Regions from separate parts of the Homo sapiens genome. Here all the other regions are linked to region 1. The links are contacts of gene promoters, found by promoter capture Hi-C in human tissues and cell types (Jung and others, 2019). All regions are on one chromosome and are shown on one strand. Each heading gives the region's core, a stretch centred on a gene start or on the middle of the fragment in contact. The rest is flanking DNA. Distances are from core to core; before and after follow the strand shown. Region 1 holds the start of ITGA11 (integrin subunit alpha 11). Region 2 has its middle 6.1 kb from the start of FEM1B. Region 3 overlaps CORO2B (coronin 2B). Region 4 overlaps CORO2B (coronin 2B).

What was found. The method cuts DNA at HindIII sites, captures the fragments that hold promoters and counts their contacts. A contact is called where the count stands out against the background at its distance.
Region 2: a contact is called between a fragment that was not itself captured here and the fragment with the promoter of ITGA11 in region 1, in 1 of the 25 tissues and cell types used here (H1 embryonic stem cells).
Region 3: a fragment that was not itself captured here is called in contact with the fragment with the promoter of ITGA11 in region 1 in 1 of the 25 tissues and cell types used here (mesenchymal stem cells).
Region 4: a contact is called between a fragment that was not itself captured here and the fragment with the promoter of ITGA11 in region 1, in 1 of the 25 tissues and cell types used here (mesenchymal stem cells).

The regions. Positions count from the first base shown.
Region 1 is chr15:68,429,382-68,436,148 of GRCh38, reverse strand. ITGA11 (integrin subunit alpha 11) reads left to right here and starts at 3,986. Exons shown (of 30, transcript NM_001004439.2): 1 at 3,986-4,134. The coding sequence starts at 4,083. RefSeq lists a silencer at 1,985-2,279 and an enhancer at 4,826-5,585. The HindIII fragment of the contact is 3,029 bases long and covers 1,505-4,533 here.
Region 2 is chr15:68,267,827-68,275,500 of GRCh38, reverse strand. No RefSeq gene overlaps it. Among named protein-coding and RNA genes, the nearest start is that of FEM1B, 6.1 kb to the left of the region's middle. RefSeq lists an enhancer at 2,168-3,367. The HindIII fragment of the contact is 3,939 bases long and covers 181-4,119 here.
Region 3 is chr15:68,655,198-68,662,793 of GRCh38, reverse strand. All of the region lies in intron 2 of CORO2B (coronin 2B), which reads right to left. All of the region lies in intron 1 of LOC124903514 (a long non-coding RNA gene), which reads right to left. Among named protein-coding and RNA genes, the nearest start is that of CORO2B, 80 kb to the right of the region's middle. The HindIII fragment of the contact is 3,710 bases long and covers 1-3,499 here.
Region 4 is chr15:68,674,639-68,682,378 of GRCh38, reverse strand. All of the region lies in intron 2 of CORO2B (coronin 2B), which reads right to left. Among named protein-coding and RNA genes, the nearest start is that of CORO2B, 100 kb to the right of the region's middle. The HindIII fragment of the contact is 4,249 bases long and covers 2,112-6,360 here.

The sequences.
Region 1 (6,767 bases), core at 2,737-5,236:
GTCTCTGAGCTGACCATGCTCATGCAGTCTTGGCCTGAAATACCCGCTCCCTCCACCCAGTTGGGATGTTGGGATTAATACTCAATCTGCTTTCAGAATGCTGGGTTCCAATCTCAGTTCTGCCTCATAGATGATGTGGAATCTTGCGTGAATCTATTGCTACTTTGAGCTTAGATTTTTTAGTAACCATGGATTTGTCTGTCCAGTATACTTTGCCATCCCACTTTTTCTGGTTCCTTTAGGAAAGTCCTCTCCTGTAATATGTGGTTTTGATGGGGCTGTCAGTCATGGCGCCTTTCTCTTCCCAAGTCATGGGGCTGGGTGTGTGTCCCAAACTGAGCTAATTATAGCACCATATCCTCCAGACACTAGGACTGGTTCAGGGGTGGGCATGAACCAAAGCCCTAGACTTTTCTGCTGGATCTACTAAAGGAAGGCTGTCTCTCTCCCTTCAGAATCTATGAAGTATAAGCTTGGGACTGCTAGACAGTCAGAGAAACTCTTCTGCTGCAGGAAAGGAAAATGGAGTGAAGCAAAACTAAGAGAAGACAGAGAGAGAGCAGTAACATTGATTTGAGACCCTTGATCCAGCCACACCTGCAGACAGAACACCTTTGCACTTCCTAGTTACATGACCTTTTACATTCTATTTTCTGCTTCAGTTTGATTGTGTTGAATTTCTGTCACTTGCAAGTGAAAGAATCTTCAACTATACAATCTCTTTACTATAAAAAATAAATACAATTTTGTACAAGATGAGTATTAAATTAGATCATGGATATGAAAGGGATTTCAAAAATAGTAAAACACTATACATAGCACTTGTACATTGTTGGTAGGAATCTAAAATGATGTAGCAACTGTGGAAAATAGTTTGGCAGTTCCTCAAATGATTAAACATAAAATTACTATATGATCAGCAATTCCACTCCTAGGTGTATACCCAAGAGAACTGAAAACATACATTCATACAAAAACTTGTATGAACATTATGCTAACATTATGCTATGTTAATGGATGGTAGAACTGCTACCAGCAAGACCGGCAGCACAAGTGTTCATAGCCACATTATTCACAATAACCTAAAGTGGAAACACCTAAATAAGCCTCACCTGATGAATGGATAAACAAAAGGGGGTAGATCCATACAATGGAATGTTACTTGGCAATAAAAAGGAATGAAATACTGATACATGTTGCAACATGGATGAACCTTGGAAACATCATGCTAAGGGAAAGAAGCCAGACTCAAAAGGTCACGTATTATATGATTTCATTTATATGCAACGTCCAGAATAGGCAAATCCATAGAAATAGATTTGTGGTTGCCAGGGACTGGTGGGAAGGAATGGGGAGTGACTGCTCATGGTTACAGGGCTTCTTTTTGGGGTGATAAAAATATTGTGAAATTAGTGAGGATGATTTTACAATCTTGTGAATATACTAACAACTACTGGATTCTATGGCACAGTTTATGGCATGTGAATAAATAAATCAGTTAAAACACTGTGTACATGTAAAGAGTTATTATTATTATTCAACAGAAATCACAGCTTTCATAAAGCCCTTCACCAAATTCTCTGCAGTTCTCCAGCCTTAGAGTCTGGATTGTGCACTTGTCACTCATATGCTGCTGCCTTGGGTGTGATTTAAATAATGTTTAATAGTGATGAAATAATAAATGGTTTTAAATAGATTAATAAATAACAGATTATGATTAAATAAATACATGGTTATGTCTTGTCTCCTCAGCTCCATCACCAGCTGCCCTAGTGTGGGGTTCTCCTTCCGTGTGTCCTACAGAGCACAGGGGCACAGTAGGCACTCTGTAGGATCTGTTGAAAGAACAAATGAGGGCACACCTCTCCCCTCACCCTCCCACATTACACAAAAGCACACAGAGTGATCCTCAGGACCCCCATTCCCCAGGCACCTGTGAGGACGGTGAAGGTGAATGAATGGTAGAATTGTTACCAGCGAGACCAGCAGCAGCGCAGCTAGGACAGCCACTACAGTGCGCCCCTTCAGCAAGCAGCATGCAGACTCTGAGCACAAGCTGCAGACCACCCACACGTCAGAGGTGCCTGGGGCACCCACCAGCATGCCCTGATCCTTGGGGAATTTGCATTCTTTGCACGTGCTCCAGGTCGTTCTGATGCACCTGGAGATTTGTGCAAGGCAGGAATGTGGGCTGCAGCCCATTCCCTAGCTGTAGGGGTGTTCTACATTCAACTCAGCTGGCTTAAACTCAACTCAGTGAAGAGGACTCACTGTCGTATAACTGATAAGTCCCAAGGGGAGTGGGGTTAAGGGGTGGCTTCATTCAGGAGTTCAACAAGATCCTCCATTCTGTCATCCAGTGTCCACCTCATCTCAAGGCCAGATCCTCCTTCCCTACCCTGACCCTGTCAACTTCTGAGCCTACAAAGTTCCTTGTCCCAGGCTGGGAGAGGAGGCAGGAGTGGGAGAGGTGAGGAGAGAGAGTTAGTTCATTTGTTTGTTTGTTCTAGGGGCTCTTTTAGAAAGGCAAGAAAGCTTGCTTCCCAAAAAAACTTTTTCTTTTGTCATATTGCCCTTTCTGAAACGATGGGCTGGGAAGGGCAACATACTGATTCATTTCAGCCTGAACCGCATGCCTCCTTACACACACACACACACACACACACACACCAGGGACGGAATCACCTTCCCCGAGTCTGTGGCTGAATGGGTGAGGTGAAGATGAAGTAAAACCCAGATAGCCAACCGAAAGATAGTGAGGTTGGGAGACGAGCACAAGCCCACTTCACTTATGTGAACCTGGGTCTTCTCAAACTCCAGCTCATCTTCAGGGGCCCTGACTGAACATCACCTCCTCTGGGAAGCCCTTCCAATACCTCCCAGATAGAAAACTCTATCCTTTGTGCACCCACACACCACCTGTACTCACCCATCCATCCACCCGCCCACCTACTTTGTTCCTGGGTGTTAGGGGCTGAGTACTCCATTGTGAACCAGAGATTTCTACCCTGATGGTGTTTTCAGTCTGCACAGGAGAGAAAAGTTAAATGATCACACCAATTGATGCCTTGCTTCTCTACTAAGCACAATGAAGAGAAATGAGGGAGAGCGGGCTGGGGAATATCAGCATGTGTCTGGGACTCAACCTGGTGGGGACGGGAAGAGGGGGTGAAGGAAGCCTTTCCTGAGAAAGTGGGGGAAGGGCGCTCTGCTGTGGCTTTCCCTGCATCTTGGCCTTCCTACCCTCTGCCTCGGCTTCCTCCATTGCTGGAAAAGCCTCCACAAGCGCGGTGGAGGTCCGGGGCCTGGATTTAAAGCTCTTGAGATAAATGTGCATTGAATTTAACTACCAGTGATTAGAAGAGGGAAAGAAGGTGGCAGGGTTACAAAGAAGAGCTTCACGTTAGGTTAAGAGGGGGTGCACGGTGTCCCTGGGTGCTTTGGAATGCCTCAGGTGTGGAGGCTCAGGGAGTGGCAGTGGAGGCGAATCTGCATGTATTCCAGGGTCAGAAGAAACACTAGCCTCTACAATTCAAGCCGCAGGGTGCAGGGAGACACGGGGATGTCTTAGAATGGACCTTTGAGGGACATCCACTCACTTGGCCAAGGGAGACCTGCGTTCCAGCAGGTGTTCCTGAGCCAGCTTGGGTACCCTCTGAGTTTTGTGAATCTCTTTTCACTGGGAAATGGGAATAAAAACCACTTTTCCTGAACAGAATCTGACTGAGGCGGTGCGGTGCTACACTGGTGAGGGGGTTCCCAGGAGCGGTTCTCTGGAGTTTTCTCCAGAGGCTGACGTGGGGTTGGCGGAGAAGGAGCGCTGCACAGGCGCGTCGAGGCAGCGCGCCGCCTGCCCAGGTGGCAGAGCGGCCGAGACTGGCCCAGAGCCCGAGCCGGAGTGGTGTCCGGCGCCCCTCCCCTCCGCTCGAGCCCTCCCACTTCCTCTGAATGAGCCGCAGCTGTCAGGGAGCCCGGCGCCCCGCGCAGTGCAGGCTGCAGGCGCCGCGCCGAGGAGGCTGCCGCTCTGGCTTGCCGCCCCCCGCCGCCGCTGCACACCGGACCCAGCCGCCGTGCCGCGGGCCATGGACCTGCCCAGGGGCCTGGTGGTGGCCTGGGCGCTCAGCCTGTGGCCAGGTAGGTGCCCACCCTCTGCCTCCCCTTGCCTCTCGGAGTCCCTCCCTGGGCCCTCGGGGCTTGGATCCAGCGGCCAGGATCGGGACGCGACCCTCCTCCCAGGGTCAGACCTCAGCTGCTCTTGGGGACGTGGGTCCCCCAGGGACTGGCCCCAGTCTAGCGGTTCAGTCAAGTTTCGCTAAAGAGGGAGGTGCGAAGGCTATTGAAAGCCGGGACTCTTTGGTGTGTTTGGGAAGAGTTGAAGAGGCTTGAGTTGAAAAGCTCCCAGATCTGGTGGCCCTCCTGGGCGCCTTAGGTGCCTCCAAGGCCCATGCCGGGGTTCCCGCACGGCTGCCAGGGGCACTCGGGTGTCCCGGGAGCGCCGAGGGCGCACGGCCCCGGCTGGGGAAGGGAATCAGCGCCAAGAGAGTGTGCCCTGGCTGCCCTCCTGCCTGGCTCCGGGGAAGCATCTCAAAGTTTGGAGAGCCGGGCGCGGCGGCCCCGGAGGGCTGAAGGGTGGGGGTGAGGGCTGCGCAGAGTGCCTCCGGCCAAAGACAGAGCAAAGCCCCGGGGCGATGGCCGGTAGGCGGGGGCTAGCTCTCGTCTGCCCGGCCAGCAGCGGCGGGACACAGTCGCGCAGCGCAGGACCCCCGAAACGTTACCTGACACCCGGGGTAGGGACCCGGCATTGCCTCCCAACCCGCGCTCGGAATTATGCAATTATTCAATAATCTGGGGAAAGCCGCCGTCGCCTAGACGCGCGCCGCCGCCTAATGCACTCCAGGTGTCGGGGCGCGGCAGGAACCTCCGGCCCGAGGGGCGCGCGGCTGGGAGCGGGAAGCCAGCCCTGAGCTCTCCGCCCTAGGGTACCCTGGCCCCGGCCGTCCCACACCGGGCTCCCCGGCTCCACCCTCCACGCGGGGCGGCTGCCAGTGATGCTGTTCTGCGGAAGACGGCCAAGTGCTCCGGCAAGGGCCAGCGCCTCGGTTACTGGCCGGGTGTGGGCGCTCAACCTTGCCTCCCCTTCTGCGTGGGCTCCAGGCCCGAGCTGGGGCCAGTAGTGGGGGTCAGATGCGGTGGTAGTGGGAGAGGTGCCCTCAGGGAGCTCAGGTGGAGACCCCTATCCCGCAGCCGCTTGCCCCAGTCCCCGGGTACCACGCGAAGCAAGTCCACCCTCCTGTCGGCCTACAGAGGAGCTTCTCAGAGGGCCCATGGTTGAAAGGGCCTCTGGCTAGTGGAATCCTAGAGTCACAGTTTAAAACAATCATTGATACATTGAGTTGTGGGGGCTTGGAAGGGAGAGCAGGGGAAGAACTGCCACCAGGCCAATATGCAACTAGAAGCCAGCTGCGGGAGGAGGCCAAGCCCATTTAGGTGTGTTTAGACAGGAGGGGAGAATCTTCTCCAGGAACTGTCCTCATATCACTAGGAGATCCAGCCACAAGAAAAGAGACGCACTCCTGTGTGACTCCAGATAGGTGGCTGCATCAGAACCTTGGGAAGGAGTGGCTGCCTTAGGGGCTAGGGACAGCCTGGACCTCAGGAAGCTAAGAGCAATGGCTTTGGAATCAGACCTGGCTTCCACTTCTGGCTCTGCACCCTGCTAGCTGTTCAATCTTGGACTGGTTATGCGACCTTTCCAACAGGTTTCCTTATGTGAAGAATGGAGACACAAATTCCGTGTCCTGTAAAGTTGTCAGGATGCACTAAGGCACTGTAAGAAAGGCCCTTAACACAGGGCTGGGTGCACAGTAGGCTTTAATCAATGGTTGTTAATGTTGTTGCTACTCAAGGAGGAGGGGGCAGAGAATGACATTAAAGGACCTCTGAAGACACAGGATTTGTGACTCAGAGCTCCGCTTATATGGCGAAAACCACTCCTGAGTTATGTCTGGTCAGTTGCATTCTTGAAATATGGGATTCATTAAACATATCAATCAATGTTGGAACAATGACATCTGCTTGCAAGGAGCTGGGGGTGGGGCCCTAGCGTGTGTGCAATCTGGGTCCTGCCTGTAACTGAGAATAAGCCAAGGCCAGGGAAAGCTAAACAGAGGCACCAGGGAGTGAATGGCTTGGGGAAACCAAGGGCTGGGTGTTCAAACAAGAGAAGTTCAATTTCAGCCAGATAAGCAAGGAAGGCTTCCTGGAGGAGGAGATATCATTTGAACTGGCCCTGGAAAAGTGTGTAGAGTGTGCATGGGCCTGAAAGTGGGAATGTTCATATTTTGGAGTATTATTTTCTGAGACTAGTTAAAGAAGATGATGAATATTTTAAAACCACTCTGGTCAGTGTGGACTTTGAAGACTAGAAGGGTCTCAGGGATCATTGGGTTCACTCCTCAGGCTCCAGGACAGGACTGATGTTGATACCTCATCCATGCATCACATGAATTCAATGTGAGGATTACCAGGAAGCTTGTCTACTGGTGATGGCAGTTTGGCTGGGCAGGGAACCTGTCAGAGGCCAAGTTGAGGGTGAGACCTCAGAGCATCTACTCTCCCAGAGCTCCAGCTGCAGGCTGGACAGCGTGATGGGGTAGACAAAACTAACAGGAAAGCCTAAAAAAAAAGTAATCAAGTCCAAAGAGAGAGATCCATTGACCAGAGCTTTACAGTCATAACCTATCTGTAGGAAGGGTGATGATTCTTAG
Region 2 (7,674 bases), core at 901-3,400, 160 kb after region 1:
TGTGTTTATCAAAGTTGCTTCGTATAGGCTTCTGGGCTCCCTTGGTTTCTTAATAGCTATTGGCTGACTGGAGACTATTTAGTTGCTTGTTTACCTGGGCTTAGAGGGTGACGTTTCTGTGGTCAGGTTGTGCAAATCTGGAGAGAGGATATGTAAACAGGACAAGGCTGCTTTCCCAAAGGCCAGGGCCCAGAAATAGTTCCTTGTGCTTCTGACCTATTTCCTCCTCCCTGGACAGAAAGCCACTGAGCAAATGTGCAATAGTAAAACATAACTACAAGTAGCTATATCCTGATGGAGATTGATTTGCTGATGACAACAAACTGCAGCCTTCCACCTGGAAATAAGGCAGGACTGACCTTTCCCCGCACTTTGCTTCCTAGGCATTATAGTGGCCTATGAGCAGAATTTGCCATGCCTTCCATGGAGCATTCTTTTTCCAAGTCAGGTCAATCCAGCCTGCAGCTGTAAGTCAATGAAGTTCCTCAGATAAAGTGCATGCAAAAATGTTATTTTTCAAGCACCAGTAAAGACACTTGTTTTAATCTTATACCCCTTGCACGTACTATAGAGGAAGAGGGTGACCCTTAGTGTTGAATAGATCTGGGTGGGATTTCCATATCTATGGACAAGCTGTGGCTCTGGGCCAGTTTCTACATCTGTACAATGGAGTCAAATCTTTTCCTTGCAGGGCTGGTGTGATGGGAACATGCCAGCTTCTTCACCAAGCCTGGTCCTATGAAGGGGTGCCTCAGTACATACTAGTTTCTCTTTCCTCTTATTCCCCTCCTGCCCACCTGACAAAATCCTTCTATTTTGCCCACGTTACAAAACTCTTCTATTTTGCCCACCTGGCAAAATCCTTCTATTTTGCCATTAACCTGCTCAAGAAAGGACTTTGTCCCCATCTGCATTTTCTCTGCAAGAATGTGCCCGCCTCTAAGAATGGAGAGTAAACCCATGGTATACAAGGGGCTGGGGAGGCTAATTCACAAGAGTTCAGAAATTCCAACAGAGCTGCACAAGGATGATGTCAGAAATAAGAGTGATAACTCAGAAACCAGTGACAGTCTATCAGCCCGGTTTCACAAAACTGGCAGCCCACTGGCCTCTGCCTCCTCTGCCTCCCACTCTCCTTGCCTTTCCCTGAAAAGCAAATCTAATGATTGGCAAAAACAAAACCAAGGCTGGAGGAGAGGGGGTGGCTAGTCTGTGTTATTTTGCGAAGCCATTCATCTCTGCCAGATTTAGGTTTACCAGGAAAGTAGGTTGAAATAGACGTGTGTCTGCTTTGTTCTAACCCCATTCTTCTCTGGATAGTGGTACCAATCGGTATCCTGGGCTTATAATGACAGAAATATGTGTGCCAGGCATCACAGTGAACATTTCACACAGATGAGCATGTTATATTTACACAAGCTTCTGAAGTACATGCCATTATTATCATTCCCATTCTTCAGATGAAGAAACTAAGGCAGAGAGCTGTGGAGTAGCTTGTCTGTGGCCTCATAACTGGAGTGTGGGAGAACATCAGGATTTGAACTCAGGCTGTCTGGCCACCTCCACCCCACCTGCTACCAACCTTCTGTGCCCTCTCAGTTCTCCCCACCCATCATGTTCTTTGCAGTCAGGACCCCAGCTTTAGGTGCCCAAAGCTTTCTGTGGTCCTGGTCACTTCACTTGGGCTAAGGGGCCAATTAACTTACTGAGCCATCCCATGCCAATGGGGAAGGGCTGGAGGAAACCCCACCACCATCCCACACATAGTCTGGACAGCCCTCACTCCTACCCCAGGAGCACAGATCCACATCCAGAGCAAATGCCATCTCATCCTGGACATCTTCCTTGATTTTGCCCCTGAGGTCTATACCACTTTATACCTCTCTTGGGACCTTTGCCTCTTTCCAAAAATTACTCGTGTCTGTACAAGATTTCATAGTCTCCAAAGGCCTTTCCCATCCACCTAGTCCAGCTTCTTCCCAGGCCTTTTAACCTCCTTCTATCACTGGGATGGCATTCAGCATGGTAATTCAGCACCTGAGCTCTGGAATCCAGCCTGCAGCATCCTAACTTCACCACTTGCTAGCTGTGTGCCGCTGGGCAAGGTACTTGCTCAACTTCTCAACATCTCGGTTTCCCTATCTGTGAAACTGGGATAATAATAATGTCACCCTTATCTGGTTGGAGGGTTGAATGAGATAAGCATACAAGCATACACAGCACCCAAACTCAGTAAGTGCTGGCTGCTGTTATCATCTCACTAAATCTTCTCCCAAAACTCCTGTGGGATTAAACCTTCCCACCACCCTCCCACACACACTCTGGTTCTTGTCATCAGTAAAAATGCATCTGAACCAGATGACCTTTAAGCTTTCTTCCAGCTCCATCAACCTATGATTCTACCATGAATCACAGTTATTATGGACACATTTTAACTCTTTATGCCATAGCAATCTCCTGAAGGCCCAGCCCTTAACATAGGGCCTTGTATACAGTTGGCTGTCCTGCCAGGGTGATGTTAGCACCTAACAATAGTCCTTGCCTCATCCACGCACTGGGATGAACAAATGAGGAAATTCCTATATAGCATTTAGTCCAGTGCCTGGCACTGAGTAAGCCCCTAATAAGTCATGGTTTCTATTATTATCCCATCTGATACTAATAAGATTCCCAAACATGGTCATTAAAAGCATAGGAGCCACACTGGGTGTGGACTCATCCTAGTGCTGATCCTGTGAGACCTTGAGCAAGTTAATTCACCACCCCATGCCTCAATTTCCTCCTCTGTAATATGGATGTGATTATGAGTAACTTCCTAATAAGGTTGTTGTGAGTTAATAGAAGGGCACTTAGAATTGTGCCTGGCATCTGCTTGGTATATGTAAGTGCTTTTTGTCATCATTTACAGATGTCAGCGGCACCAAGGGACATCCCCAAGCAGTAGTGGAGTTGGGATCCAAACCTAAGCTTGACTGATTCCAGAGCCTCAGTGCTAATATTAGGAGATATTGCTGCCCTGTGTGATCCCATGCATTTCAGCAGGAGCCTCCTTGTCCACTCCTTTCAGTTGTCTTCCCTGGCAAAGGAGTTTTTATAATGGTGATTTCAGGATGGGAGGAGGGTGAGTCAGCACCAGAGAGACCTAAGGATGCCCTCAAATCATACCACAGGAGAAGCAGCCTTCTTCTCACCTGTGTCTGGTCGTATCACTTTAGCATTCCATCAGGACCTGGCCCAGAAGCCCAGAAACATGGCAACACCCACACCTGCCATCTAGCCTGGAAGCTGCAGCGAAACCCTCAGCACTCACGCTGATGTCACATTTGAGGCTAGTCCCAGCTCTTCCATGGAGACAGGCCCTGGCCTTGAGGCCATTTCCCATTTCTGAGGCATGATTCACTTAGCAGACAAGACCAGACAGACTCGTTCATGTTCATACCTACCGGAGGAAGGAGAGGTGGGTGGTGGATCCAGGGGGAGAAGAAAAACAAACGGGGTTAGGGCTGGCAGGACTCTCGCTGCTGGGCTGCAGGGGCGGAGCAGGCAGGCAGAGCGCCTGACTTAGGAGCCGTGCCCAGCATGGCCACCCACTCACCCATTTATCTTCCTTGCAGTCAAATGTATTGATTTAAACAGGAATCCGTCTGTGCTTCTAAAGCCCCAGAAACGCACTTACATCTCACGTGTAGCACAATGATTTTCAAAGAGGTTTCCCACAAATAATTTTAATTTGGGTTACTTTTTAAATATTTGATTCTCTTATTAACAAAGCAACACATGCTTATGAGGAATGCTGGGACAACTTTTCAAATGTCAATTTTAAATATATACAGAATTATACCACCAGCAATAAGATTTTCAGTAAATTTCCCACTAGTCTGTTTTCTGAGTCCACAGACATATATAGTTCATGAAACAAAATTGGAGCCATACCACACAAAGAGTTCCATATCTTTTTTTCTTTTCATTTAACATAAAGTCATTGGCATTTTTCAATGTTACCAAATATTCTGCTACAGCAATTCATAATGGCTGCATTTATCAGAATAGATGTGTTATAATTTCGGTGGCCATGCCCTGATTGTTGGACTTTCAAGATGTTTACGAAAATATTACTATTAAAATAACAGTGCCACGAACACCTCTTTACTTGTATTTTTGTCTGTATATCTGATTATGTGCCAATAATAAATTTCTAGTAATGGAATTACTAGCTCACAGGATTTGAATATTTCTGAATATATCTAGCCAAATTACTTTCCAGAAAATACATCCAGTTTACACTCCCCCGGCAATGTGTTCGAATGTTCTCACTCTGTTTTGAGCTTGTGAGCCAGTGAGTTAGGTAACAAGGTCTCATGTTACAGACGAAGAAAACTGGGCACAAAAAGATTAAGTAGCCAGCTCCAGTTCGTACAACTGAGATCCAAGCCCTGGCCTCCTGGAGTTAGTGTCAGGGGCCTTCCAGACAAGGAGAGCTCTGAAGAGGTTTCCTGACTAATGGAGTTGGATAGAACTTTCTTTTTTTTTTTTTTTGAGACGGAGTCTCACTCTGTCACCCAGGCTGGAGTGCAGTGGCGACATCTTGGCTCACTGCAACCTCTGCCTCCCAGGTTCAAGTGATTCTCCTGCCTCAGCCTCCCGAGTAGCTGGGATTACAGACATGTGCCCCTATGCCCAGCTAATTTTTATATTTTTAATAAGTAGAGACAGGTTTTCAGTATGTTGGCCAGACTGGTCTAGAACTCCTGACCTCAGGTGATCCACCTGCCTCAGCCTCCCAAAGTGCTGGGATAATAGGTGTGAGCCATCATGCCTGGCCGCCTTCTATTATTTATTAGAGACATTAGTCTGTAACTTCTCCTTTTTTAATAACTTTGATATATTTTTATATTAAAGTTATGCTGGCCTGAAAGTTGAGATATTTTCCCTTTTTTCTCTAGTATTTTCTTTGAGGGAAGGTTTCTAATTATGGATTAAAGTTTTTAAAGTAGATGTAGGTATATGTACATTTTGTACTTATGTTCATTTTGGTAAATTGGGCTTCTCAAAGAATTGATTCACTTCCTTCAAATTTTCAAATTTATTAGCGCACATTTTTTATAATATCTTTTTATCATTTTAATATCTGTAGCATCTGTTTTTATAGCCTGCTTTTTTCATTCCTGATACTGATAATTCATATTTTCTCTTTGTTTTTCTTAGTCTTACTACTATTTATCAATTTTTTTTTTTTTTTTTGGATACAAGGTCTCACTCTGTCACCCAAGCTTGAATACAGTGAAATGATCACAGTTCACTGCAGCCTTAGCTTTGGCTCAAGCGATCCTCCCACCTCAGCCTCCCAAAGTGCTAGGAGTACAGGCATGAGCCACTGTGACTGGCCTATCAGTTTTTTTAACCTTTTCAAAGAATGAATGTTTGGATTTATTTTCCATATTGCAAATTTTTTTCTATTTCACAGATTTTTGCTCTTTATTATTTCTTTGCTTTTTCTTTATTTGGTCCTAATTTGGTTGCTCTTCTTTTAGATTCCTGATTTTCAATTCTTAGTGTTTTTGTTTGTTTGTTTTTTTTTTTTTTTGAGATGGAGTCTTGCTCTGTCACCCAGGCTGGAGTGCAGTGGCACAACCTTGGCTCACTGCAACCTCCTCCTCCCGGGTTCAAGCGATTCTCCTGCCTCAGCCTCCCGAGTAGCTGGGATTACAGGTGTGCACCACCATGCCCAGCTAATTTTTGTATTTTTGGTAGAGACAGGGTTTTACCATGTTGGCCAGGCTGGTCTTGAATTTCTCACCTCAAGTGATCCACCTGCCTCAGCCTCCCACAGTGCTGGGATTACAGGCTTGAGCCACCTCGCCCAGCCAATTCTTAGTCTTTTTTTTTTTTTTTTTTTTTTTTTGAGATGGAGTCTTGCTCTGTCACCCAGGCTGGAGTACAGTGGCACAACCTTGGCTCACTGCAACCTCCTCCTCCCGGGTTCAAGCGATTCTCCTGCCTCAGCCTCCCAAGTAGCTGGGATTACAGGTGTGCACCACCATGCCCAGCTAATTTTTGTATTTTTGGTAGAGACAGGGTTTTACCATGTTGGCCAGGCTGGTCTTGAATTTCTAACCTCAAGTGATCCACCTGCCTCAGCCTCCCAAAGTGCTGGGATTACAGGCATGAGCCACCTCGCCCAGCCAATTCTTAGTCTTTTTTTTTTTTTTTTTCATTTCTGATATATACATTTAAGGCCATACATTTTCCTCTAATCACTGTCTGGCTGACATCCTACAGTTTATAAAATAAAATTATATGTGTTTATTACAAGAATCAAATTAAGAAATTGTATCAGCTTCTCTAACATACTTATTTACACAGCAAATATAATATACCAAGATGATGCAAACCTTTCAAATATGTCAAGCCACAGTTTTCTTTGCTTTTTTTTCTTAGTTTAAAATATATTGTTGTTCTTCCACCTTATCTTTGTTTTCATAAGTGGTTTTTCTCTTATCCTGCCTTATAATTTTGCTAGGTTTGGTGATGTAGGAAATCAAAAAAGGATTTAGACAAGAACAAATGAAGTTATGGTCCGAACAATTTTGAAGCAATAGATTTACATTTGAGAACTTTTAGTTGTAATGATCCTGCAAGTTTTGGTTTGTTGTGTTTTCATTATTATTCAGTTCAAAATATTTTCTAAATCTCATGTGATTTTTTTCATTTTATTCATAAGTTATTTAGAAGTCCTATCAAATCTCAAAGCGGTGGGGGATTGTATTATTAGCTACATATGACAGATGTTTGGCTTAATTCCACAGTCGAAGAACACAATCTGTAGGATTTCATTCCTTTGATATTTGTTGAGGTTTGATCATGTCTCAGCATGTGGTGTATCTGTGGGAAATGTTCAATGTGTACTTGAGAAGAATGTGCTTTCTGTACTTGTTTATAATATCTAAAACAAAAGAGTGATTATCTTCTAGGTTATATAAAAACTCAGGCAAATCGGTAGGAAAAAAAAATGCCACAGGAAACCCTATAGAAAAAAATGGCATAGGAAAAGAACAAGCTATTCACAGAAGCAAAAGCCCAAAATAGAAGAGATACTCAAATTTATTAGTAATCAGAGGAACGCAATCACAAGATACCACTTTTTATACTTGGACGTCAGAATGGTAAAAATTAGATAGGCAAAATCAAATGTTAGTGTTTATCACAGAGAACTCACAAAGGTTTTTAGGTACAAAGACCTTCCTCATGGCTTTATCTGAGTGGTGGGGAAGTGAGGGCAACTTAGGTATTCATTATCACAGATGGAGAAGAACCATACGATGGATGCTCACTCTGGGAAGATTGGTTAGTGGCTCACCAAGTCTATCTCCTTTTCTTCCAAGACACACAAATAGACTACATTTTCCAGTCTTCATTGCAGTTAGGCACAACCATTTGACTGAGGTCTAGTCAAAGAATATGAATGGAAATGATGTTGCTATTCCAGGCCCATGAAAACCTCTCACACAAGATATTTATGCCTTTCACCTTCTGCCAATGCAATGCAGGTGGATGCGACCATCTTGGAAGCCATGTTAAAGAAGGCAGAGCCACAAGATAGATGCAGCCGGGTTCTCTAAATCACCACTGGGGAGAAACCCACACACCAATGAGGAATACCCATTTTTTGGATTT
Region 3 (7,596 bases), core at 395-2,894, 230 kb before region 1:
ACATGGTGTCATTTGCAGTTGAGAAAAATGTAAACAAATGTTAATGACACAGTATTAAGTCATAACTGCACCAAATTGTGGCATCTACTGTACTACTGTAATAATTTTGTAGCCTGCTCTTGTTGCTATTGCAGGAAGCTCAAGTGTTGCAAGTATCTGCTTAAAATGCATGTGAGGCTAATCATCTCCATGTATATGATTCAATTCATCTCTCCAATAAATTGCATATGGCAATACAAAGTGATCTCTTGAGGTTCTTGATGTATTTTTCATCGTGTTTAGTGCAATAGTGTAAACCTTGAATGACAACTGCAGACCTCATTTCAAGATAAATGAATCCAGCTTAAGGACTATTGTAAAAAAATAAAAGGAAATTCATGAAGTTATTCCTGAGTTATGCCAGCAGGCATGAAAACCCTGCACTTTTCAAAATACCTTATCTCATTGTGAAAATACAGCTTTTATGTGGGTGCAGGATTACTATAAGAAAGGTATAACCTATAGATTCTAATATGATTCCGGAAAAGGTGAAATCATTATATGAAAACAAAGCAAAAGGAAGTTGAACGATCTAAAGTCAGATAATTTAACATCAGCAAAGGGTGGTTTGATCATTTTGAAAGAAAATTGGCTCATAAAATGTCGTGATAACAGGAAAAGCAGCTTCTGCCAACCAGGAAGCAGCAGATGAGTTCCTAGAAGCCATTAAGAAAATCACTGAAGAGAAAGGACATCTGCCTAAACAGATTTTTATTAATTAATTAATTTATTTATTTATTTATTTATTGAGACAGGGTCTTACTCTGTCACCCAGGCTGGAGTGCAATGGCATGATCTCAGCTCACTGAAACCTCCACCACTTGGGTTCAAGTGATTCTCCTGCTTCAGCCTCCTGAGTACCTGGGATTACAGGTGCACGCCATCACACCTGGCTAATTTTTGTATTTTTAGTAGAGATGGGGTTTTGCCATGCTGGCTAGGCTGGTCTTGAACTCCTGACTTCAAGAGATCCACTTGCCTCGGCCTCCCAAAGTGCTAGGATTACAGGCGTGAGCTACCACGCCAGGCCCTGAACAGGTTTTTAATGCAGACGAAAGTGCCCTGTTCTGGAAAAATATGCCATTAAGAACACTTGTTAGTGAGGAAAAGAAACAAGCATCAGGATTTAAGGCAGAAAGGGGTAGGCTAACTCTACTGTTTTGTGCAAATGTAGTCAGGTTTATGATCAGGACTACCCTTATCTGTAAAGCTGCTAACTCCCAAGTCTTGAAGGGAAAAGATTAACACCAGCTGGTAGTCTTTGTACAAGAAGGCCTGGATAACCAGAACACTTTTTCTGGATTGGTTGAATGTTTTGTCCCTGAAAAACTGCCTTTTAAAGTTCTTTTGATATTGGACAATATCTCTGGCCACCCAGAACCCCATGAGTTCAACTTGCTCCTAAACACAATGTTTCTAATTCAGCCTCTAGATCAGGAAATCATAAGAACTCCTAAGACTTATTACACATGGTACTGACCAGATGCGGTGGCTCACGCCTATAATCCCAGCACTTTGGGAGGCCGAGGTGGGTGGATCACTTGAGGACAGGAGTTCGAGACCAGCCTGGCCAACATGGTGAAACCCCGTCTCTACTAAAAATACAAAAATTAGCTGGGCATGGTGGCGGGCACCTGTAATCCCAGCCACTGGGGAGGTTGAGGCAGGAGAATCGCTTGAACCCAGGAGATGGAGGTTGCAGTGAGCTGACATCACTCCAGTGCACTCCAGCCTGGGCGACAGCAAAAGTCTGTCTCAAAAAACAGAAAAAAAAAAAAGACTCATTACACATTACACATGGTACTGTATGGAAAAGATTGTCAACACTAAGAAAGAGAACCTCTATAGAGAGAACAACATGAAAATCTGGAAGGATTACATAGTTGAAGATACCATCATTGTTACAGAAAAAGCTGTGAAAGCCATCAAGCCTGAGGCAATAAATTCCCACTGGAGAAAACGGTGTCCAGATGTTGTGCATGACCTCACCGGATTTACCACAGAGCCATTCAAGGAAATAATGAAAGAGATTGTGGATATGTAAAAAAGGTGTGTAGGAGTGAAGGGTTCAAAATATGAATCTTGGCTGGGTGCAGTGGCTCATACCTGTAATCCCAACACTTTGGGAAGCCAAGATGGGTGGATTGCTTGAGCCTAGGAGTTCAAGACCAGCCTGGACAACATGGTGAAACCCCATCTCTACAAAAAATAAAAAAATTAGCCAGGTGTGGTGGTGCACACCTGAAGTCCCAGCTACTTGGGAGGCTGAGGTGAGAGCATCACTTGAGCCCAGGACGTTGAGGCTACAGTGAGCCATGATCATGCCACTGCACTCCAGCCACGGCAACAGAGCAAGAGCCTGCCAAAAAAAAGATATGAATCTTGAAGAAGCTTAAGAGCTAACAGACATCACACTAGAGGAATGAACAGAAGACAACTTGATGGAGATGAGTGCTTCTGAAGCAATGCCAGACAATGAGGAAGAAGACATAGAAGAAGCAGCACCAGCAAACAAATTGACATTAGACAATCTGGCAGAAGGGTCCAATTATTCAAGACTGCTCTTGACTTCTTTCATGACATGAACCCTCCCATGATACAGGCACATGGTCAAAGGAGAATTGGTACCATATAGAAACATTTTTAGAGAAATGAAAAAGCCAGACAGAAATTACGATATATTTCTGTAAAGTTACACTGAGGGTGCCTGCCTGCCTCTCTTGTCTTCCCTTCCACCTCCACCACCACTTCCACCTCTGACAGCAATGCCAACCCCTCTTCTTCCTCCTCCCCTTCAGCCTACTCAGCATGAAGATGAGGATAGACTTTTTTTGTTTTTTGAAACACAGTCTCGCTCTGTCACCCAGGCCTTGGCTCACTGCAACCTCCACCTCCCGGGTTCGAGTGATTCTCCTGCCTCAGCCTTCTGAGTAGCTGGGACTACAGGCGTGCACCACCACACCTGGCTAATTTTTGTATTTTTAGTAGAGACGGGGTTTCGCCATGTTGGCCAGGCTGGTCTTGAACACTTGACCTCAGGTGATCTGTCCGCCTCGGCCTCCCAAAGTGCTGGGATTACAGGAATGAGCCACCATGTCTGGCCGAGGATAGACTTTTATAATGATTCACTTCCACTTAATGAATAGTAAATATATTTTCTCTTCCTTATGGTTTTCTTTTTAAAAATTTAATCAAAAAAATTTTTTTAGAGAGGGGCTCTTACTGTGTTGCCTGGGCTGGTCTCGAACTCTTGGCCTCAAGTGATCTTCCTGCCTGGGCCTCCCAATGTGCTGGGATTACAGGCATGAGCCACTGTGTCCAGTCAGTTTCCTTAATAACATTTTCTCTAGCTGACTTATTGTGAGAATTTAGTATATACACATATAACATGTAAGATATGTGTTAATTGACTGTTTATGTTATTGGTAAGGCTTCTGGTCAGCAGAGTTAAGTTTTGGGGGAGTTGAAAGTTATATGTGGATTTTCAATGGTGCAGGGGTCAGCGCCCTTATCCCTCACACTCTTCCAGGTTTAAGTATGTACATATAAATAATTTTGGGAAAGACACTCCAGTAACTGCTAACAGCAATTCCCTCCTACTGGAGGAACTGAGTAACTGGAAGCTAGGATTGAAAGGCAGACCGTCCACTGCAGGTCCTTTGCTTCTGAAGTTTAAACTGTCCAACTGCATGAAGGTTTTGCCTAAATATAAGTACTTATTTATAAATAGATAAGTTATTCTAAGTGGGTAGAGTTGTATGCATGTGGATATTGGTGGGCGAGGGCAATCCAGAGGGAGAAACAGCCGGGGCAAAGGCGTGTAGGAGAGAAAGCTGGCTGCAAAGCCGCCTGTGCCTGGGGACAGCGACAGCACTTCACAAACACTGCACAGGGGCTCATCAGGCCTCCATGTTGCATTCTGATCAGCGGGAGCAGTTCACAGTCCCAGGTATAAGCTCTCTTTGGACAGGCCCATGGCACTGAGTCAGCACTGAGCTGGGGTACTTTATCTACTCTGTTTCATTTACACCTTGTTCCAATCCCAAAGAGTAGGTCTTAGGAATGATGTCTACTGGACAAAGAAGAATGAAGCTCAGGGAGGTTAAGTAACTTGCCCAAGGTCACAGAGCCATTAAGCAGCTCGGGTGGACCTAGGGCTGTGTATCACTTCCTTTCCAGAATTCTATAGATCAGGGTGGGAAAAAGTGGGGAGTGGGTGCAAAGAGTTAAGCACCCAAGAGTGAGCAACCAGACTCTTCCCTGCATTTTCTTGGCCAGCCCCTCCCGCTTCTACCCAGGTTGTTATCTGGCCTAGGCCCCAACCACAACCCCCACTGGCCCCTCACTGGCCGAAGGCAGGAAGGAGGCACAGATGGCAGGCGGGGACGAGGCCCCCAGCCAGGCTCACCCAGCTGTCGCTTTGGAGAGCACCATGCATCTCGCCCTCCTCCTCCATTGAACAATTGGGAGCTGGCCAGCCTGGCCCCAGCTGTTCCCTCTCCCTGGTCCAGGGCTCCTACCGACCCAAGCTTCTGGGGTTTTTGTCTCCAGGGGAGGAGAAGCACAGAGTTTCAGAATGTCAGAGCTGGCGAGACCTTGGAGGACAACGGGCCCAACATCTCATTTTACAGATGGGGAAACTGAGGCCTAGAAAGGCAAAGGAACTCACCCAAGGTTACAAAGAACCAGGCAGAGAAGCTAGGTTTCCTAACTGCCAGTGAAGCTTAGGAGTTTGGGGAGCCCCACAGGAGTGAAGGGTGCTCAGGTCTATTGCATTGCTCCCTCCCCACCAACTTTCAGCCACAGCAGTTCTGCCTGTCCTGATTTTATACAATAATATTTCCCTCTGATTTTATTTCCAAGGTCTTTAATCTGAGTGGGGCCACAGACCCTGTTAGGAGGTTTGTGAGTCTGGGTAGGAGACAACTTACATCTATATTTTCACTAGCCTCTAACTGAAACCTCACATTTCTTTCGTGTATAAATGTAGGCAGCAAACCCCAACAGGATTACTTGAACCTATAATGTGTTCATCAACAGGTATCACAGATATTTTCAGATAACTTCTGCTACTATTAACTCAAAATATGTATGCACATCATGACTTTGAAATTAGAGTCGTTACTGTGTCCTACACTCAATCATGGGGCGTAATGCATTGATAGAAAAGCACTTATTACAGCACAATTCTGGTATACATTTTGATAACTGTATTTCCTTTTTTTTTTTTTTTTTTTGAGACAGGATCTCATTTTGTCACCTAAGCTAGAGTGCAGTGGCATGAGCACAGCTCACTGCAGCCTCAACCTCCCCGGGTTCAAGTGATGCTCCAACCTCAGCCTCCCGAGTATCTGGGACTACTAGCATATGCCACCACACCTGGCTAATTTTTTTGTATTTCGTAGAGATGGTGTCTTGCTATGTTGCCCAGGTTGGTCCCAAGCTCCTGCACTCAAGCAATCCTTCCACCTTGGCCTCCCAAAGTGCTGGGATTACAGGTGTGAGCCACTGTACCTGGCCTGTGTTTCAAAATAATTGGCTTCTTGCGTAATCCTATTTTGTATACTTAAAAACTTTATTCTGTGAAGGGGTCTATGGGTTTTTCTAGACTGCCAAAAGGATCTATCCCTGACTCCCCCAAAAGTTCATCTGTTTTATTTGAATAAAATTATTCAGTGTTAAAAACTAAAGTTTGCAAACTTTTGTACTCCATCTGTGACCTCATAACATTAAGGCAGAATTCTCATGAGATAAATGAGCAAACTGGGGATCGGGGGGACTGGACCCTAGGTGGGGAGGGTGCATCAGAGCCCAGCAAGCCAGGATCACACCAGCAGACTTGCACTGAAAGGTTTGCCCTGAGCCAGGCACCTTCCAGGCTTTATGTAACACCTCACTGAATCCTCAGAACAGCCTCGGGGTTAGGACTAGCATGTCTCTCATTCTACAGCGAAGGAAACTGAGGCACAGATCAGTTAGGTAACTTGCCCAAAGAACATAGCTGGCAAATGGTAGAGTCAGGGTTGAAAGCCAGGCCAGCTGATGCAGACCCTGCACCCCTAATCACTGGGCACACTGCCTCCCTGTCTAGGTAGATGGAAGCCTCTCACGGGAAGTCTCTAAGGTGTTGCTGTTGTCTGGGTGCTTCTCTTGGTGGGGGAAGGAGGAGTGGGAAATGGGATGGTTCTGAAGCATTTGCTGCCAGGATCAATCATCTGACACATGGGGCACTAACTAGCTGTGCAACCTTGACCAAGTGTCTTGCCCTTTCTGGGCCTCAGTGTCTCCATCTATAAATTGCAGAGTTTTAAGCACTACCCCTCCATACCTTCCACCTCTCATGCTCACCTGACGACCCACTTGGAAACTCAGGCACAGGTTGCTTAGCAACTGAAATCAAGGTCTTGGCTGAGTGGAATGGAAAGGGGGGAGACAAGAAGTGCTATGTGATGCTGATGTCACAGATCTGTCTCTTGACACGTGAGGCTGTGAATGCTGGGACCAACCCTTCTTCCTCCCACATCCCTCCATCAAGTCAAGAGCCTTGGGATGGGAGCGGGTTGGTTGGGTCGGGGGGCGGGGGGGACGGTGCGAGGGGGAGGGGGAGGGGTGGGCAGCAGTCAGGGACATGAGGAAGGCCATCTGGAAGTGCAAACTGCCCTAAGGACTAAATCAGGCCTGAAGTTTCTCAGGCAGGGCAAACAGGCAGCCATTGTTCTGGAAGCTGCCAGGAGAAAGGCCAGTGGTAGGAGCCTTGGCCAAGGCCTCTGGGCCCCAACTGCCCCCAGGGAGATGCTCTGTTTCAAGCCAGGCAACCTTAGTTCCACTCCCCACACCCCTCCTGCACCCTAAATCATTTTTGTTCCTTGAAGTGCTGAGAGTCACTGACACATGAGGGTGCTTCCAAAGCTACAGGCTCAGATGAGACACAACAGCAAGTCTCTACCTGGCCTCCTGTTGAGGGGCTTGGGGATGGCCGCCCTTTGTGGACAGATCTCCTGCAGACTGGAATTCCACTATTACCAACACATTCCTTTGGGTCTCAAGAGTTTGGTCTCCTTAAATCTCACCCTAACCTTAACCAAATGCAAATTCCCTTAGTAAAGGAAAGCCATTGTTATCATCGACACCTTAGGAGATGTGAGTGTGGACTCTGAGAAGTGGCTGAGGGCAAGGATTCTGGGGAAGGGGGCCAGAGGGTGTCCAGGCATGTCATGCAACCTTGGATAAGACACTTCTCCTTTTTGGGATCAGGACTTGTCGTGGGCACAACAAGGCGCTTGGAATCTATGATCCCTGGGGTCCCCTCTGACTCTGGCATTGTGTCAATGTAAGACTGGGATTGGGGCACTGGGGAGGAGGGCCGGCGAGAGGCATGGACTGTGAGGACTGTGTGGCTTCAGCCTGGCTCAGAGCACAGAGCTCATGCTCATTCAATGGGGCTGTGCCTCCATCTGAGCCAGCTAGACTCCAAGGAGCCTCCGTCTCAATTCCAGCACCGTTTTCTCCCACCAACCTGGATCTTTTAATAATAGAAGAAATATAGCTCAGATTTGT
Region 4 (7,740 bases), core at 2,987-5,486, 250 kb before region 1:
CTGCTCCTTCCTCTCCAGGTGCACCCTGCCCATAGCCTTCCTGAGGCACTCCAGTCTTCTAATTGGTCTCCACGGTGCTGGTCTCTTCTCGAACTCCAGAGCAAGATTGGCTTTCTATAATTATTACTTTCCTTGTGCAACTCTTCCAGAATCTTCCATGGCATACATAACTATCTGCAGGATTTTTTGGCAGTTGGGCATCCAAGCCCCCTTCCTGATTTGGAGGACTCTCCCTCTGTGGGCTGTCCTGGTGGGATGCAGTGCCCTACCATGAAAGCTGAAGCAGGGGTTCCTCCTACCCAGGGTCCTCTGCTATCCAGGGACGGGGCATGGGACTGGGTTTGGCCAATCAGACTCCTACCCAGGGTGGGCTGGGACTGGGCCCTCCGGAGCTGTCTTGGTGCTGATCTGGTTCCAAGTCTGGCTCTCCACTGTCCCAGCTCTAGCCCTTTAAATCTATGAAGCCCCTAAACCCTTTCTGCATAAGAGGACTGGGGTTGGGGGTGATTTCTGTTGCTAGCAACAGATAACTACATCTGTGTTATCTCTGCTCCTCAACAATGTCTCCGCTTTTCAGAGACAGAAACTGAGACCTAGAGACAGAGATTTGGGCCACTCAGCCAGTGTGCAGCAGGAATCCTGACTTAGTCAGCTCCCCTTTCTCTGTCTTATCAGATCTGACTTACCTGCCTGGCCCTCGAGGGGCACGCACACCCTGTTCCCACCCCCAACTGCCCTCTAACCTTATTCTTTGGTTTGCTCAACCCTACAGGGGTCACACTTCTCAAGTGTGACAGACCCAATTTTAAATGTGATGTCTCAGGTCCTATGAAAATGGTGATTATCTCCCCCAATCCCAATATTTGGATGACCACCTTTTCCCAGACTTCTTCTCTGACAGAAACACAGAACTTCTCTGCCAGATCATGGGTGTCCTAACCCTTGGTTTGGGAAAATATGGCCCCCAAATCAGGGGGCTCCTCACTGGCCCCCTCCCTGCATTCCTTGTGACACGGTCTTTAGAAAGGCCTGCTCCTCTGGGCTTCTGCACCCCTCAAGAGACGCCCCAACTCCTGCTCCCACTGAGACGATTTAGTGCACTTCACATCTTGTGGTCTTCCTTTTCCCTCAGCTTTTCTTTCCAAAAAAAAATTTTTTTTTGAGATGGAGGGAGATCTTGCTCTCTCGCCCAGGCTAGAGTGCAATGGCACGATCTCAGCTCACTGCAACCTCCTCCTTCTGGGTTCAAGCGATTCTCCTGCCTCAGGTTCGCGAGTAGCTGGGATTACAGGCACCTGCCATCATGCCCGGCTAATTTTTGTATTTTTGTAGAGACAGGGTTTCACCATGTTGGCCAGGCTGGTCTAGAACTCTTGACCTCAGGCGATCTGCCTACCTCAGCCTCCCAAAGTGCTGGTATTACAGGCGTGAGCCACCGCGCCCGGCCCCTTTTCCCTAAGCTTTTCTAAGCCCTTCTTCCCACAGCATTTGTGATCATGCTGGCTGTCATTTACTGAGGGCTTCCCATGGGTCAGACCTGAAGCCAAGTGTTATTTCAATTTTTTAGCACAATAACCTTACGAAGTACAGGTCATTGTGTCCATTTTGCAGATGAGGAAACTGAAGCTTAGTGAGATTAACTAACACAGCGGCAAAGCCAGGATGCAACCCTTAGTCTTTCTGACCTTCAAATTAGAATGTAAGCTCCATGCAGGGTGGTGCTCTGTCTTGTCCTCTGCTATAACCCCAGTGTCTGGAATCGTGCTGGACACAAATGGTAAGCTCTCACCAAATTGTGTTGAATTAATGATGCCATAGACGGTGGACCTAATCAGGATCCCCTGTACAGTTGCATGGACTGTACACTGCACAACTCAAGGGGGTACCATTTGCATGGTGCAGAGCCTTCTGTTGTGCTCTGGGCCTAACCATGACACTGTCCTGCTTCTCCATTTAGCATTGTCTTGCGTTGTTTGCTTTATTTCACGGGTGTTTGTTGCCCTCCCAAGAGATTATCCACACTTTCATCTTAAATGAGATAATCATGGAGGGTTTCCAGCAGAGTGTGAGACATGAATGAAACCTCAGTGGTACAGACATGCTTCTTACACCCTCTGGTCTCAAACACAATGCCAGTCTATATTCAGGATCAAATGACTCCCCCAGCCACATGCTGCCAGCTGCAAAGATACTGTTGTCATTGAAGTGGGAGTGAGTCACATGGCACCATCCACATGCTCCCAGGCTGGGCCACTCTGCCTTGCCTCTTAGGGATAGCCACCGAGAGAACCGCCATCCACCAAGAGCGTGCACACTCTGCGGGGGCCCAGTGCCCACCATCTTCCCTGCCCAGACACCATAGAGACTCAGCCCTGGGCCATCACTGTCCCCATGGAAGTCATGGAATCTGTGGGCAGGGCAGGGGACCTCTGGCTCAGAACTTCAGCCTTGCTCCATCAGGGATATGTAAGGGGCCAGAGAAGGAGATGCACCACCTCCGAGGTAATGACCCTGGGAATCTATGGCCTTGAAAATGTCCTTTACATTGTAAGTGAACAGCCCCATGCTGAGATGACCAGTCCCTCCCCATCCCAAGCTTTCTCTCTGCTGCATCTGTGGAGGTTGGTTGATCCTCAGGGGCTGGGGTAGTGGGAGAAGGAACATATTGCACTCCGAACCCCTAGAAGTCAGGGTCTACTTTGGCTCAGCTCACGCTAATGACTGACTGAGCAAGTTCCTTCCTCCCAGGGCTTCAGTTTCCACATGAGCCAATAAATACAAACTCACTGGGCACGGGGCCTGGCACCACAGAAGCACTCGATAAATGGTAGTTATTATTATCATCTGCAAAATGCAGGTTAGCTTCCTCCCTCTGCCTCTGTGCTCTGCACAGCCCCTCGGACCAGACCCTCCTTTGTACTGTGCTTAATGGCTGTCATGGCTGTCACCCTCACCAAGGGTGAGCTTTCCATGGGTGGGGTATGTGTCTAACCCATCTTTGTACAGGCCTAGCATGGCCAGCTGCCCCGGTGCATGTGCTCAGAAAGTGTCTGCACAGTGGACCTGAACCATCAGGGCCCTTCCAGCTCTGCCAGTCTGGGGTTATATGTTGAATCTCCACCCAGCTCACCAAACACAGACAAGAACCCTCCCTGGGCCTGGAGCTGGCCACCTAGAGATGAATAAGATGGGATGATTCCCTTGGATGTCACTTCCACCACATTCTGTCTGTTTTAGTCACTACTGTATCCCAACACCCAGCACGGTGCCAGGCCCATAGTAGAGTCTCAATAAATATCTACTGAACTCATCCACGAGTGAGAAGCAGGTGATATTTCTGGGAAGGCCCTCACTCTGCCTGACCAGCTCGGAGGGCCAGGTCAGGGACTGGGTCCTACTGTCAAGCCAAGTTGGGCTGCTGGAGGGGCAGGGAGGGGAACACACCCTGAGTACAGCGGTCCCCTGGCCTCTAGCCAGATCCACTATCTGTCCAGTAACCTGGGGCTACATTTTCTACTCTAGTTCTTCCCTATCTGAGCACTGGAGGACCGGCAATGAAGGCTGGAGTTTGGGTGTGTGGTGCCTGAGTTTGGGGCTCCCAGGGGACATGGTGTGGGCAGCTCTTCTGAGCCTGGTGCTGGCTATGCCACCTGCTGATCCCTGGACACGCTCAGCTGCCTTCTTTTGTTTTCTTTTTTCTTTTTTGAAGTGGAGTCTCGCTCTTTTGCCCAGGCTGGAGTACAGTGGCACAATCTCAGCTCACTGCAACCTCTGTCTCCTGGGTTCAAATGATTCTCCTGCCTCAGTCCACTGAGTAGCTGGGATAACAGGCACCCACCACCTCACCTGGCTAATTTTTGTATTTTTAGTAGAGATGGGGTTTCACCATGTTGGCCAGGCTGGTCTTGAACTCCTGACCTCAGGTGATCTGCCCAAGTCGGCCTCCCAAAGTGTTGGGATTACAGGTGTGAACCACCGCCTGCTGTCTTTTCTCTGTTATTGCCCGACAGGCCTGGGGCACCCTTCTGGGGGCTCAGTGTGAGGGAGGGGAGAAAGGGCTCACACTGACACAGAAATTGGGGAATTCCTCCTCCTCCTCCCCCTGCTCTTACTATGGAGTGCTAGGCTGTTCTGCCTGACTCCTTCTCTGACAACAGGACCTGGGTCTGCTGTCCTCCCAGACTCAGTGGGAAAGGTCCTAACCCCGCCAGTGTTGTAGGAACAGCCAGCAGCCAGTGGCACGGGTGCTGTACAAGTCATCTGGGGGGAAAGTCAAGTGCATGTTAGGCCTTTGTCAGGAAGCAACAGACCTTGCAGGGGAAAGGAGAGCTCCTGTTAATTATGGAGGGGCAAGGCAGCCTCCTGGGCCAGGGGGCTGGGCCCCACCAGGCCTCCGAGAGGCAGGAGATTTTCATGAAATAACAGGAAACCCTCAATCCAGCCAACGTTCATGTTTTTCCATGGCTGCAGAGAGCCTGTGGCTGGCTGAACCAGGGGATCAGGACCTGTTCTTGACACAGTAGAGGGGACTTGGCCACCCAGCTATGGTGAAGGAGAGGGTGAAGGCAGGAACAGACATATCAGGAGAGGGGAGGCAGGAGACACACAGAATGGGGCTGGGCAGTGGGTGAGGAACCCTCCAACCTGGTAGGGTTGTTTTATCTGCAGAATGGACAGGGGCTGGCACAGGGTGGACAATTTCCCAACACGAAGTCACCAAGGCCTATGACAAAGACAGCTATTTTCTTCCTGCCCATGGAGGTTTTGAAGGTCCGCTCCCAAGTAACCTTTGCCTCTCCAAGCAAATCCCTGAAAACCCCTGGAGCACAGCCTCAGCATCCCCCCGCCACCATCTGGCCTTTCCCAGAAAAGCTGCCTCCCAGCTGCCCAAGGAAATGCTTTCTCTGTGGCAGAGAGGGGCCCTTGTCCTTAGCCATTGCATGACAGGGAGAGGGTCTCAGCTCCACCCTCTGCTGTGTGGCCTTCAGCTAGCCCTATCCCTGTCTGGGCCTCATCTGTATCATCTGTACAATGGGGCTTTGTGCGGGGTGACCTTTGAGGTTCTGGAATTTTCTTACTTGCAGTCTCTGCTCAGGCCCAGTGGGAATGACCAGCAGTGCACCCTGCAAATATAGTGATGGGGCTTGGGGTTCAATTGGGAGCTTTGCAGGAAGGGCAGAGGAGCAAGCTTTGGAGAGGAAGAGGGAGCACTGACAGATGGCTTGGAGGAGAGGGAGGGTGTGCCTCCGGGGCTCCAGGCCTGGCGGGGAGCACAGTCCCGAAAGTGCTGCAAAAACAGGTCTTGGACTGGGCACCGTGGCTCATGCCTGTAATCCCAGCATTTTGGGAGGCTGAAATGGGAGGATCACTTGAACACAGGAGTTCAAGACCAGCCTGGGCAGCACAGTGAAACCTGTCTCTACAAAAAAAAGAAAAAAAATTAGCCAGGCATGGTGGTGCACACCTCTGGTCCCAGCTACTTGGGGAGGCTGATGTGGGAGGGTCCATTGATCCAGGAAGTAGAGACTGCAGTGAGTCGTGATGGTGCCACTGTACTCCACCCTGGGTGACAGAGCATGACTCTGTCTTAAAAAAAAAAATAATCCAGAAGAAACAAAAAACACAGATCTTGGGCCACCTCTAGACCTCCTGAGTCAGGTCAAGGCCTCTGGGAACAAGCATTTTAAACACTCTCCTCAGGTGGCTGCGGTGTGCGCATGCTAGCACAGAGGTGACAGCAGGACTTGGGAAACACGGCTGAGACCTGCACTCCAGCTTGAGAGTCTCATGGACTCTAGTTCAAGTCCTGCCTCTGCAGCTTTCTGAGAATAGCAGCCCCATGTCACAGGGGAACAGGGACAGTGTATGGAGGTGTCTGGCATTTGACGGGTTTAGGCAGCGGTGGTTATCCTTGCAGACCCCTTACCCTCTGGCACCTCAGTCCTGACAGCTGAGGAAGGTGACCTGAAGCTAGATTGGCCCCCGGAAATTAAAGGCTAAGGTGGGCCAGGAGGCAGAAGTCCTGCTTCAATTCAGAATCCTCTGGAGGGTTTGTGCAGCTCATCATGACTCCTATGTCCCTCACCCACAGATGCGGACGCTAGCAGTCATGTTAGCACCACAAGTGTGGGCCACTGCCAGCACACACACGCTAAACTGATTGGATCATAATGGGCATCTAATTCAAGCTGAGCCAATCAGATATCCTTATCTGCCCACACTGTGCCCTTGCACACACAAACACACAGCTGATTGGGCCAGGATGAGCGTCTAACTCAAGCTGAGCCTATCAGATTCCCTGACCACTGTATTTAAATTCAGCCACCCCTCCACCTGCCCACACCCCTGTCCCCTTCCCTAATCAATTTCTCCTCCTAGCATTATTCTATTCTATTCTATATTCTATTCCATTTCTGTTCTATTATTATACTATATTATACCCTATAATCCACTTTATTATCTGTCTCCTCCGCTAGCGTGTAGGCCCCATGAAGGCTGGGGTTTTTGTCTGTTTTGTTCACTGCTGGGTCCCCAGTGCTTCCCACAGTGCCGGGTACAGAGAAGGTGCTCAGTAAAAATTTGTTAAGTGAATAAATTCTCTCTTCCAGGAGGTGGAATTGCAGCTAACATTTACAGAGAACCTACAATGTGTTAATGTTTTCTAAGCACTTTAAATATGTACTAACTTGTTATGATCTCCATGACCTTGGTTTTACAAAAATAGATCTATAAACATCTTATTTGAGTCTCACTACCTCTGTGGAGGAGTTATCATTTCCCTAACTTCAGAGATGAGACAACAGAGGCTCAGAAGGGTTCATGGTCTTGCTCAAGATCACGCAGCAACTAAGTGGCAAAGCTCAAACTAGAATTTACAACTTCACCTCCTACCTCCTCAAGTCCCCATTTCTTTCCAGACACAGGATACCCCTCCTCTGCCTAGAAGATGCTATTCCTGCCCTCAGAGGCTTTACTTTCCCTGGGAAGGTGAGCTAGAGGAAGAGACAGCTCCAAAGGCCCAAGCAGAGGCTGAACTGACCGAGGAAAGGGAATTGACACAGCTTGTTTCCTGTCCTCAAAGTTACTGTGAAATCCTCATGAATGACTGACAGCAAAATGGGAGGCAGCTGCCGCAAGGGGAATTCCAGAGCATGCTGAAGCGGGGTACAAACATTCCAATTCATGCTGGACTAGAAGTATTTTCGCCATCATGGCTGCCTTCTTCAGATTACCTTCTGCTCTATTTCCCAATTTCAGTGTGGCTCACGGAGCTGAGAACAATACTGTAGTTCCAGCCTGTGGTCTGACCAGTACAAAAGGAAGGGGGAAGAGTTCCTCTTTCTTCTTGCCTAAGTCTTTTTGCCTTATAAAAGAATCTCTGACTCTCTAGCTGACTGATACCTGAAGTTCTACTATTAGGGATTCATTCCTTTCGTGCTCCACCTTGCTGCTCTCAAAATAAAATAAAAATACCCCTAAAGAGAGTGTAGTGGGAGATAATATTGGTCACTGTGGACTCATTCTGAATAAGCTTTGAGAATATTCCTGAAGGCAGGTCTGAGGGAAAAGAGCATGAGGGCACTGGTGGAAAGGCTGGAGGGAGAAAGAGGGAATAAGGTAGTTGGGATCAGGGCAAACTCTTACTCCAACCCTGCCTGGTGAGGTCATGGAGCACTGCTGAGTTTGATGTTCTTCGCGTGTGCTCCACGGAGAAGCCACTGCCCACGAGCCTTTCTCTGG